Regions from separate parts of the Homo sapiens genome. Here region 2 is linked to region 1. The links are contacts of gene promoters, found by promoter capture Hi-C in human tissues and cell types (Jung and others, 2019). All regions are on one chromosome and are shown on one strand. The core of a region is centred on a gene start or on the middle of the fragment in contact, and the rest is flanking DNA. Distances in the headings are between cores, read along the strand shown. Region 1 holds the start of KLHL40 (kelch like family member 40). Region 2 overlaps CCDC13 (coiled-coil domain containing 13).

Region 1 (2,987 bases), core at 1-2,500:
AAGGCTGGTCAGGCACCTGCAGGAAGTATGCGCTCATGGGGTCCTCTTTGTTGTCTTCGTTGTAGAAGAGGCCTCCAGCCACGAAGACCTGGTTCTCCTTGGTAACCAGGCTGACGTGGTTCTTGGGGACCTGGTTGGAGAGGGAAGCACAGTAGCACTCGTTGGCTGCTGGATCGTAGGCCACAGCGCCCTCCTCACTGATCATGAAGATGAGATCCTGCAGGAACATGCCGAAGCGCAGGGTGTCATTGAGGATCCCAGGAAGGATACGTTCGGCCTCCTCATCCTCCTCTGCTTTGGCTTTGCTTGTGCCCTTATCAGCCTCCTTGGCCCCGGCTCCATCCTTCCCCTTCTTTTTCTTCCGCAGCGTGGTGATGCGGCCCTCGTGTGCATCCTTCACCATCTGCACCTTGCGCAGCAACTCGGGCTGGGCACGCACGAGAGGGTGGCGCTCCACGCGGCTTTCCAGAAAGGCGCGCGGCAGCAAGCGGCAGCGCACGCTCTCGAAGACGGTGGGCAGCGCGCGCTGGCGCTCAGCCTGCGCCTCGGCGTCGCCGCTACCCGCCCACCGCATCACCGCCTCGAACACTGCCTCCTCCTTCTCCACGTTAAGGCCGTCGCTGGAGATGATGGCGATGAGCTCGTCGGCCGAGAGTCCGAGGAAGTCAGCGTCGCGCGCCACCAGCGTGAAGTGAGCGCAGATGAAGTCGCGGGCAGCCACGGCGAGACGCGCGCAGTCGAGCAGGAGGCCGAGACGGAAGACGGCCAAGCAGTTGGAGAGGCACAGGCGCTTCTGCAGGAAGGACACGCAGATGGTGAAGATGGAAGGGATCTGGAAGCGGTGTGCCGCGGCGAACAAATCCTGCACGCTCGCCTCATCCAGCGCGATCTCTGATGTGTACAGGTAGTGCAGCACCTGGGCCACCACGTCCGGGGACACCTCCTCCAGGTGCAGCTCGCCCGCGCGCTCCGGCTCGGCTAGAAAGCGCGCCCGGAAGTAGGGGCTGCAGGCGGCCAGCACCAGGCGATGGCACGGGAACTCGCGCTCGCCCGCCCGCACCACACAGTCGAGGAACTTGCCATGGTCCAGCATGTCTTTGAGCCCGTCTTGCAGGAGCGTCTGCTGGTACAACCGCTGCTCCTCCGCCTGCTCCAAGCCCAGCGCCATGGTGGGTGGCCTAGGGTGCGGTGGCGGTGCCAAGGGGGCTCCTCTCTGTACCCCTGCTTTCCTGCTGGGGTTTGCTTAGACTGAGCAGCTGTCTTCGAGGGGCTATATATAGAGGTGGCCGGGTCCCTGTAAGGCGAGCCGCCTGGCCTCCTGCACATGACGCACAGGGGACAGCTGGGCAGAGGCCCCCTCCCAGAGAAAGACTTGACTCAGCCCCGGGGGCTTATGGGACGGGGGTGGGGTGTCTGGGCCCTTCTGAAAGATGAGGGCCTGGCTGCCTCATTTCTAAATGGAGCACGGAGAGGTCTTGACTCTGGATTCTTTGGTCAGGAGATGCCCCTAGGGGAGAAGGTGGCCTAAGCTCTGACCCTCAGTCCAGAGACGGGAAAGCACTGGAGCCTCTCTTCCAGGGTCTCCCTTCCTTCATGCTTTCTGGGAACTTCTGTCCTGGTGCCTCCATCTTCCCCCCCGGAATATGTCTCACTCCAGCTACCCCTGGATACAGGGTGCTTGGGTTTTCTGGTCAGAAGTTGGACATGGTGTTCACTTTTTGGCGGCCCTGTTGCCCTGCCTTTATTTTAAGAGGCAGGGTCTCACTATGTTGTCCAGCCTGGACTTGAACTCCTGGGATCAAGCCATTCTTCTGCCTCAGCCTCCCTCGTAGCTGAGATTACAGACATAAGACACCACCCCCGTTGCCTCACCTTTAAAATGGGAAGAGCTTTTCCTCTTTCTGTCCCTCCTCCTTGCAAGAAAGCAAGAAGGTACCTTAGGTAAACAAGGTTGCCACTTTCCTATGAGGCCTGGGGCAGGGCATGTCGCTCTGTTAAGCCACAGTTTCCCTTCCTACACAATGAGGAGGTGGCAAAGTTAGATGCTAAGGACCTCAGTTCAACTCTGCTGGAAGTTTAGAAGCACCAAGGTACTGTGTCCTGGGAGTACACTATTAGTTTTAACACTTCTAAGGTGTCAGATGTGCTAGCAAATTAATTTCTTAGGATTCTACTATTCTAGGTTTTTAAACCCCCGGGGTTTTAACATTCTAGGGAGTGACATTCTGAATTCTAGTGTTCAAAAAGTAACACTACAAGTTTAATATTTCAGGACTTTAGCTATCTATACTCACTATTCTTGGTGCATATTAGGCCAGACCTGAGACTGCCTGGCCATGGGGCCCCTGCACCTTGTCTATGGTCTGAGGGACCAGGGTTGAAGCCCAGGACAGCCAGTCTTGATGCCTACCTTGTTCTAGACTACTGACACCCCTCCCCACACCCTCCCCACCCCGCCCCACCACCAGACACACACACACACACACACACACACACATCAGCCTCAGTCACCAAGATTAACTTGTTCCCAAAGTGCCAGAGGCTGCAGCTGTGTGTTAAATTTAGCCCCCAGGACATTGGAATGAACTATTATGAGACACACCCCCATCATTCCTCTGAGTCACTTGTTTATAACGTCAGGCGGGGGAGTGGGGGAGGGGGTGGGTATAGGAGAGATGACAGCAGGCTGGGCTAGGACTGAGTCACCTCCCTTTTGTGATCTCAGCAATATCACTCTCTGTCCCTTTTGTTTTTAGACGGAGTTTCGCTCTTGTTGCTCAGGCTGGAGTGCAATGGCGCAATCTCAGCTCACTGCAACCTCCGCCTCCAGGGTTCAAGCAATTCTCCTGCCTAAGCCTTCCTAGTAGCTAGGATTACAGGCGCTGACCACCACTCCCGGCTAATTTTTTTTTTTTTTTTTTTTTTTTGGATTTTTAGTAGAGACGAGGTTTCACCATGTTGGCCAGGCTGGTCTTAAACTTCCGACC
Region 2 (6,058 bases), core at 2,543-5,042, 76 kb before region 1:
AGGCACCGTCCCTTCCCCACCCAGGTGAATTTCTTCTGCATTCAGCTTCAAATTGACTGAGATGCCTGTCTCTCCTGCAGCTTCTCTCTCCCCAGACAGCCTCTCAGAGTGCTTAACACCTCTCATTCTCAAACCAGCTGAACGTTAGGCTCACCTGGGAAGCTTTAAAAATACAAAAATGTTAGCTGGGCGTAGTGGTGCATGCCTGTAGTCCCAGCTACTCGGGAGGCTGAGGCAGGAGAATCGCTTGAACCCAGGAGATGGAGGTTGCTGTGAGCCGAGATCGTGCCATTGCACTCCAGCCTGGGCAACGAGAGTGAAACTCCATCTCAAAAAAATAAAAATAAAAATAGACACCCTGGCCACAGCCCAGATAATTAATTTCAAATCTCCACTGGCCTCATGAATAGCACAGATTAGATACTAATACTCTGGGGGCCGGTCTGGACCACAGGTGTCCTCTCAGTGCAGGCATTACTGTCTATCCCAGAGGCTCCGTTGGGCCAAGAGCACCACTTTTCATACAGTGATAATGATAATTATTTCCATGCATTCTTCCACTTAATCTCACAAACTCCCTGTGAAGTTCGTAAGTATCAGAGTCCCATTTTACAAATGGGAAACGAAAGCAAAGAGGTTAAGTAATTTGCCTGGGGCACAGTGTACATTCAATGAGTACCAGTTCCTCAGTGACTTCAAGTGCAAATTGGGAGTAGAAAAGGAGAAAAGCTTTACAAGTTACTGTGTTCATTCATTCAGTGACAATTCTACAAATGACAGTTGAAGGCCTGTTCTGGGCAAGATGTTGAGATTTAGCAAATGAATAAGGTATTAGGACCCCTGCCCTTAAGAGGTCTCTTTGTAAAGGGAAGTAATGTAAATAAAATAATAGATAATTATAATACACTGAGGTTAAGTTTAGTGATCAAGGGGTGCCCTAGGGATTCTGGGAGTCCACAGAGTGCCCTGAGGGGAATCCTAGAGGCTAACTGGGAGTTAGTGGGAAGGTAAAGGGCTGGGATGGGGAGGCCTGGGAGGAAGGCCTCCCAGGTAGAGGAGTGGCTGAAGCCAGCCTCTGAGATGCCACTGGGCTTAATCCACAGCAGGAGCCACAAACCCAAAACATCTGCTGTGGCTGATGGGAAATAAAAGTGAATCCAGCAGGTTTAAGAGAAAGAACAACATTTATGTGCAGTGATAATGGGCAGCTGATGTGCCAGCTGCAGCATCTGGAGGTGGCAGGGACAGTGGTTTAATGGAAAGAACCTATTATGCACCAAAGGAACTCTCTGCATAGCAGCTGCTGTCCGTGTGGGACGATGGGCCCAGCATTGCCAGATCTGTAAACTTTTATAAAAGAAGCTGGTGTAAACTAAACATAAAATTCAGAGGCCCCCCATCCATCTGAATGGACTTCCTTCTCAGCCAGGGCACTCCAAAGTTAACCTGAAAGACCAGTTCAGGCCTTGATGGGAAGCAAGGGTTGGACACGCCTCATTATACCCTCCTCCCTTTTGGAATTCAGGAAAAGTTGACCAACATTTAACATCAACACAGACCTTAAGTCTGATAAGAAACATTTACAATCTATTCTCTCTGAAGCCTGCTACCTGGAGGCTTCATTTGCATGATCAAAACTTTTATCTCTTTTATTCTAACCCAGATATTCCTTTCTATTTATAGTAACTCTTTTAACCAATTACCAATCAGAAAAATTTTAAATCTACTTATCACCTGGAAGCTCCCCCCTCCCAACCTTGGAGTTGTCCTGCTTTTCTGGACCAAATCGGTATATATCTTAAATGTATTTGATTGATGTCTCAGGTCTGCCTGAAATGTATAAAACCAAGCTGTGCCCTGACCACCTTGGGCACGTGGTCTCAGGATCTCCTGAGGGCTGTGTCACAGGCCATGATCACTCACATTTGGCTCAGAATAAATCTCTTCAGACTGGGTGCAGTGGCTCACACCTGTGATCCCAGCACTTTGGGAGGCTGAGGTGGGTGGATCACTTGAGATCAGGAGTTCAAGACCAGCCTGGCCAACATGGTGAAACCATGTCTCTACAAAAACATACAAAAATTATCTGGGTGTGGTGGTGCATGCCTGTAGTCCCAGCAACTCAGAAGGCTGAGGCAGGAGAATTGCTTGAGCCCAGGAGGCAGAGGTTGCAGTGAGCCAAGATTGTGCCACTGCGCTCCAGCCTGGGTGACAGAGCGAGACTTCATCTAAAAAAAAAAAAAAAAAAAAGTACATCTCTTCAAATATTTTACAGAGTTTGACTGTTTTTGTTGACACTGGAAATCTGATATTGAAACTACAATTCTTTGAATGTTGGCAACAAATTCAAATCCTAACATAGTGTTCTGTAAGAGCCAAACAAAAATGTCTGTGGGATGTGTTAAACTAACTGTAGCCTAAAGCTGCCTTCTTATATATTCTAAGTTCAGCCTAAAGGTTTCTCTGTACGTAGTAAACTGTAACCTGACTAGGAATTTAAACAGACTGCAATCTACTCTTGTACCAGTCACAGAGTTTCAGCCAATCACAGGCAGCCAGCTATTCAAATTGTATTCAAAAAAGGCAAACAGCCAGCTGTAATCAGTCTAGCTGTTTCTGTACCTCACTTGTGCTTTCTGTTCATCACTTTCCTTTTTCTGTTCATAAATCTTTTTCGACTAGGTGGCAGCCCTGGAGTCACTCTGAATCTGTTCTGGTTCTGGGGGCTGCTAGATTTGTGAATCATTCTTTGCTCAGTTGAATTCTGTTAAATTTGATTTGTTTAAAGTTTTTCTTTTTTTATTTTGGAGACAGGGTCTGACTGTCACCCAGGTTAGAGTGCAGTGGCGCGATCACAGCTCATTGTAGTCTCAACCTCCTGGGCTCAAGCTGTGCTTCCACCTTGGCCTTCCAAAGTGCTGGGATTACAGGTGTGAGCCATCATGCCTGGCCTAACGTTTATCTTTTAACAAAGGATATAGCCTTTGGGCCAGCTATTATACTCACATGTATTGTTTATTACAATGAAAGAATACGGGTCAAAATCAGCAAAGAGACACATAGGGCAGAGTCCAGGAGACACCAGGTGCAAGCTTCCAGTTGTCTTCTCCCAGTGGAGTCATGTTGACAGTACTTACTTCTCCCAGAAACAATTCGTGGCAACTTACATGGAGTACTGCCAGCCAGGGAAGCTCCCCTGAGTCTTGGTGTCCAGGGTTTTTATTAGGAGATGGTTACGTAGGTACAGTTGACCTTAGTCACTCGATCTCCAGCCCCCTCCAGCCTACCCTGCACCTGGCAATGAATCACATTGTTAATTAACATGGACTGGAATGGCCCAAGGTCCCCAGGTGAAGAAAAACACTCTCATCAGGAAGGATGGTCCAAGGGCTCAGAGATTCTCTCTTAGGAGCGGGTCAAAGGCCAAACATGTTTTTTGGAATGTGCGGGTGTGCACAATACAGGTTTTCAGAGTTAATTCTTTATAGTTCCTCTTACTGGGCAGAGCTGCCTGGTAAGGAATTTCAACATAACACCAGCTTCTGCTTTTGTTTGACCTTTGCCAAACCCTGGGCTCAGCCCACAGCACATTAAAACCAGCTGGGCAGCAGTTAAACCATCCCATGCTTGGTCTCCACTCCAGACTAATTTAAATCAGATTCTCTAGGGGTGGGCCTGGTTATCAGCATTTTTAGATTGTATCCTGGGGATTTGGTATTGAAGCAAGTTTAAGAGTAACTGGGTACAGGCTCTGGGACCACCCCTGTGTGTGAGATGGAGATAAGTATATTAAGAAGGTACAGATAGAGCAGTTGAAGCTGTTTGGGTAGGTAGAGTATTCCTCCTGGCGGGTCAGAAAAGGACCATGGTATTCATGCTGGGTGTAGGAGGACCAGCAAGATTTAAGCCTTGGGGGGAGAAGGAGGTATAGGAACAGAGGAGCAAGTCAACACAACTAGCTAGAAGTTAGCATTATGAAAGGGAAAACAGGCTAGAAGGACACAGAGGCCAAATCCAAAGCGCTTAATGCCATTGGACTTGGCTTTGTGGCTAAGGGGCATCTGCTGAAGCTTTTTGCACAGGAGTCTGTCAGGCTCAGAGCTGTGGTTTAGAGAAACTTGTCCCTCAGCAAATGTTATTCATTTGTTCAGCAAGTATTCATTCCATGCCTGCCATATACCAGGCCCTGCTACAGGCACTGAGGATACAGCAATGAACAACACAGTGCCTGCCATTGTGAAGCTGGTGGGGAGGGAGAGAGGCAGTCAACAAGTAAACAAATCAAAATATAATGTGTCAGATGACTCTCAGTGCCATGGAGGAAGACAAAACAGGGCAAGGGCATGGGGAGCGAGGGCAGGGATGCCTTCTACAATAGGATATGAGGAGACCTCTGTGATAAGGTGACATTTGAGAGGAAGTAGGTAAGGTAGATGTCTGGGGGAAGGACATTCCTGGAGAGGTAACAGCAAGTGCAGATACCCCAAGGTGGTTATGAGCCTGGTATCAGTGGGAATGGAGACATGGGGGCAGATTTTAGGACATTTATGGAAAATAAACAAGATTTATGATTAATTGGATGATAGGTAGATGATGTGGCTTGAGGTTGGTTTAAGGCAGGGATGCTTACCACTGGCTACACTTTAAAATCGTGAGGGGAGCATTTAATAATTCCAGTGTCTGTGCTCTATTATTTCATTTATGTGAAGTTCAAACAGACAAAGTATCAAGAATGTACAAGAAACTGATCATTCAGTAACAGTGAGTGATTGTATTGTGACTGTAAATTGTATTGTCTAATACAATTTAAAAATGGGCAAAAAATGTGAATAGACACATCACAAAAGAAGATATACACATGGTCAACAAGCACATGAAAAGATGCTCAACATAACTAGTCAACAGAGAAATACAAATTAAAAACACATTGAGATACCATTTTATTTTTATTTTATTTTAATTAATTAATTTATTTATATTTTATTTATTTATTTATTTTGAGACAGAGTCTTGCTCTGTCACCCAGGTTGGAATGCAATGGCGCAATCTTGGCTCACTGCAACCTCGGCCAGGCTGGAGTGCCATGGCGCAATCTTGGCTCACTGCAACCTCGCCCAGGCTGGAGTGCCATGGCGCAATCTTGGCTCACTGCAACCTCGCCCAGGCTGGAGTGCAATGGCTCAATCTTGACTCACTGCAACCTCTGCCTCCCAGGTTCAAGTGATTCTCCTGCCTTAGCCTCCTGAGTAACTGGGATTACAGGCCTGTGTCACCACACCCAGCTAATTTTTGTATTTTTAGTAGAGATGGGGTTTCTCCATTTTGGCCAGACTTGTCTCAAACTTCTGAACTCCGGTGATCCACCCACCTCAGCCTCCCAAAGTGTTGGGATTACAGGCATGAGCCACTGTGCCCTGCCTATTTATTTATTTATTTATTTATTTATTTATTTATTTATTTAGAGACAAGAATTTTGCTCTTGTTGCCCAGGCTGGAGTGCAATGGCATGATCTCAGCTCACTGCAACCTCTGCCTCCTGGGTTCAAGCAATTCTCCTGACTCAACCTCCCGAGTAGCAGGGATTACAGGCACATGTCACCACGCCTGGCTAATTTTGTATTTTTAGTAGAGATGGGGTTTCATCATGTTGGTCAGGCTAGTCTCGAATTCCTGACCTCAGTTTATCCACCCACCTCGGCCTCCTAGAGGGATGGGATTACAGGGATGAGCCACCATGCCCGGCTGAGATACCATTTTACATACTAATGAGAAAGTCTAAAATTTAGACTGACTAGCCTAAATGCTGACGAGGATGGCGCAACTGGGACTCCCATTGCTAGTAAGAATGTAAAATGGTACAACCACTCTGGCAAACAGTTTAGCAGTTTCTTATGAAGTTAAACATAAATTACCATATAAGCCAGAATTTTCACTTCTATGTATTTACCCAAGAGAAATAAAAACATACATTCACACAAATACCTTCTTATACATGAATGTTCATAACGGCTTTATTCATAATAGCCAAAACTGGAAACAGCTCAGATGTCCAATAACA

What was found. The method cuts DNA at HindIII sites, captures the fragments that hold promoters and counts their contacts. A contact is called where the count stands out against the background at its distance.
Region 2: a contact is called between a fragment that was not itself captured here and the fragment with the promoter of KLHL40 in region 1, in 2 of the 25 tissues and cell types used here (dorsolateral prefrontal cortex and spleen).

Annotation. Positions count from the first base shown.
Region 1 is chr3:42,683,800-42,686,786 of GRCh38, reverse strand. It overlaps KLHL40 (kelch like family member 40), which reads right to left and starts at 1,250. Exons shown (of 6, transcript NM_152393.4): 1 at 17-1,250. The coding sequence starts at 1,168. It overlaps LOC124906232 (a long non-coding RNA gene), which reads left to right and starts at 2,986. Exons shown (of 3, transcript XR_007095893.1): 1 at 2,986-2,987. RefSeq lists enhancers at 2,476-2,770, 2,593-2,987. The HindIII fragment of the contact is 17,953 bases long and covers 1-2,987 here.
Region 2 is chr3:42,759,696-42,765,753 of GRCh38, reverse strand. The region is part of intron 1 of CCDC13 (coiled-coil domain containing 13); the gene reads left to right. Among named protein-coding and RNA genes, the nearest start is that of CCDC13-AS2, 7.9 kb to the left of the region's middle. The HindIII fragment of the contact is 3,761 bases long and covers 1,912-5,672 here.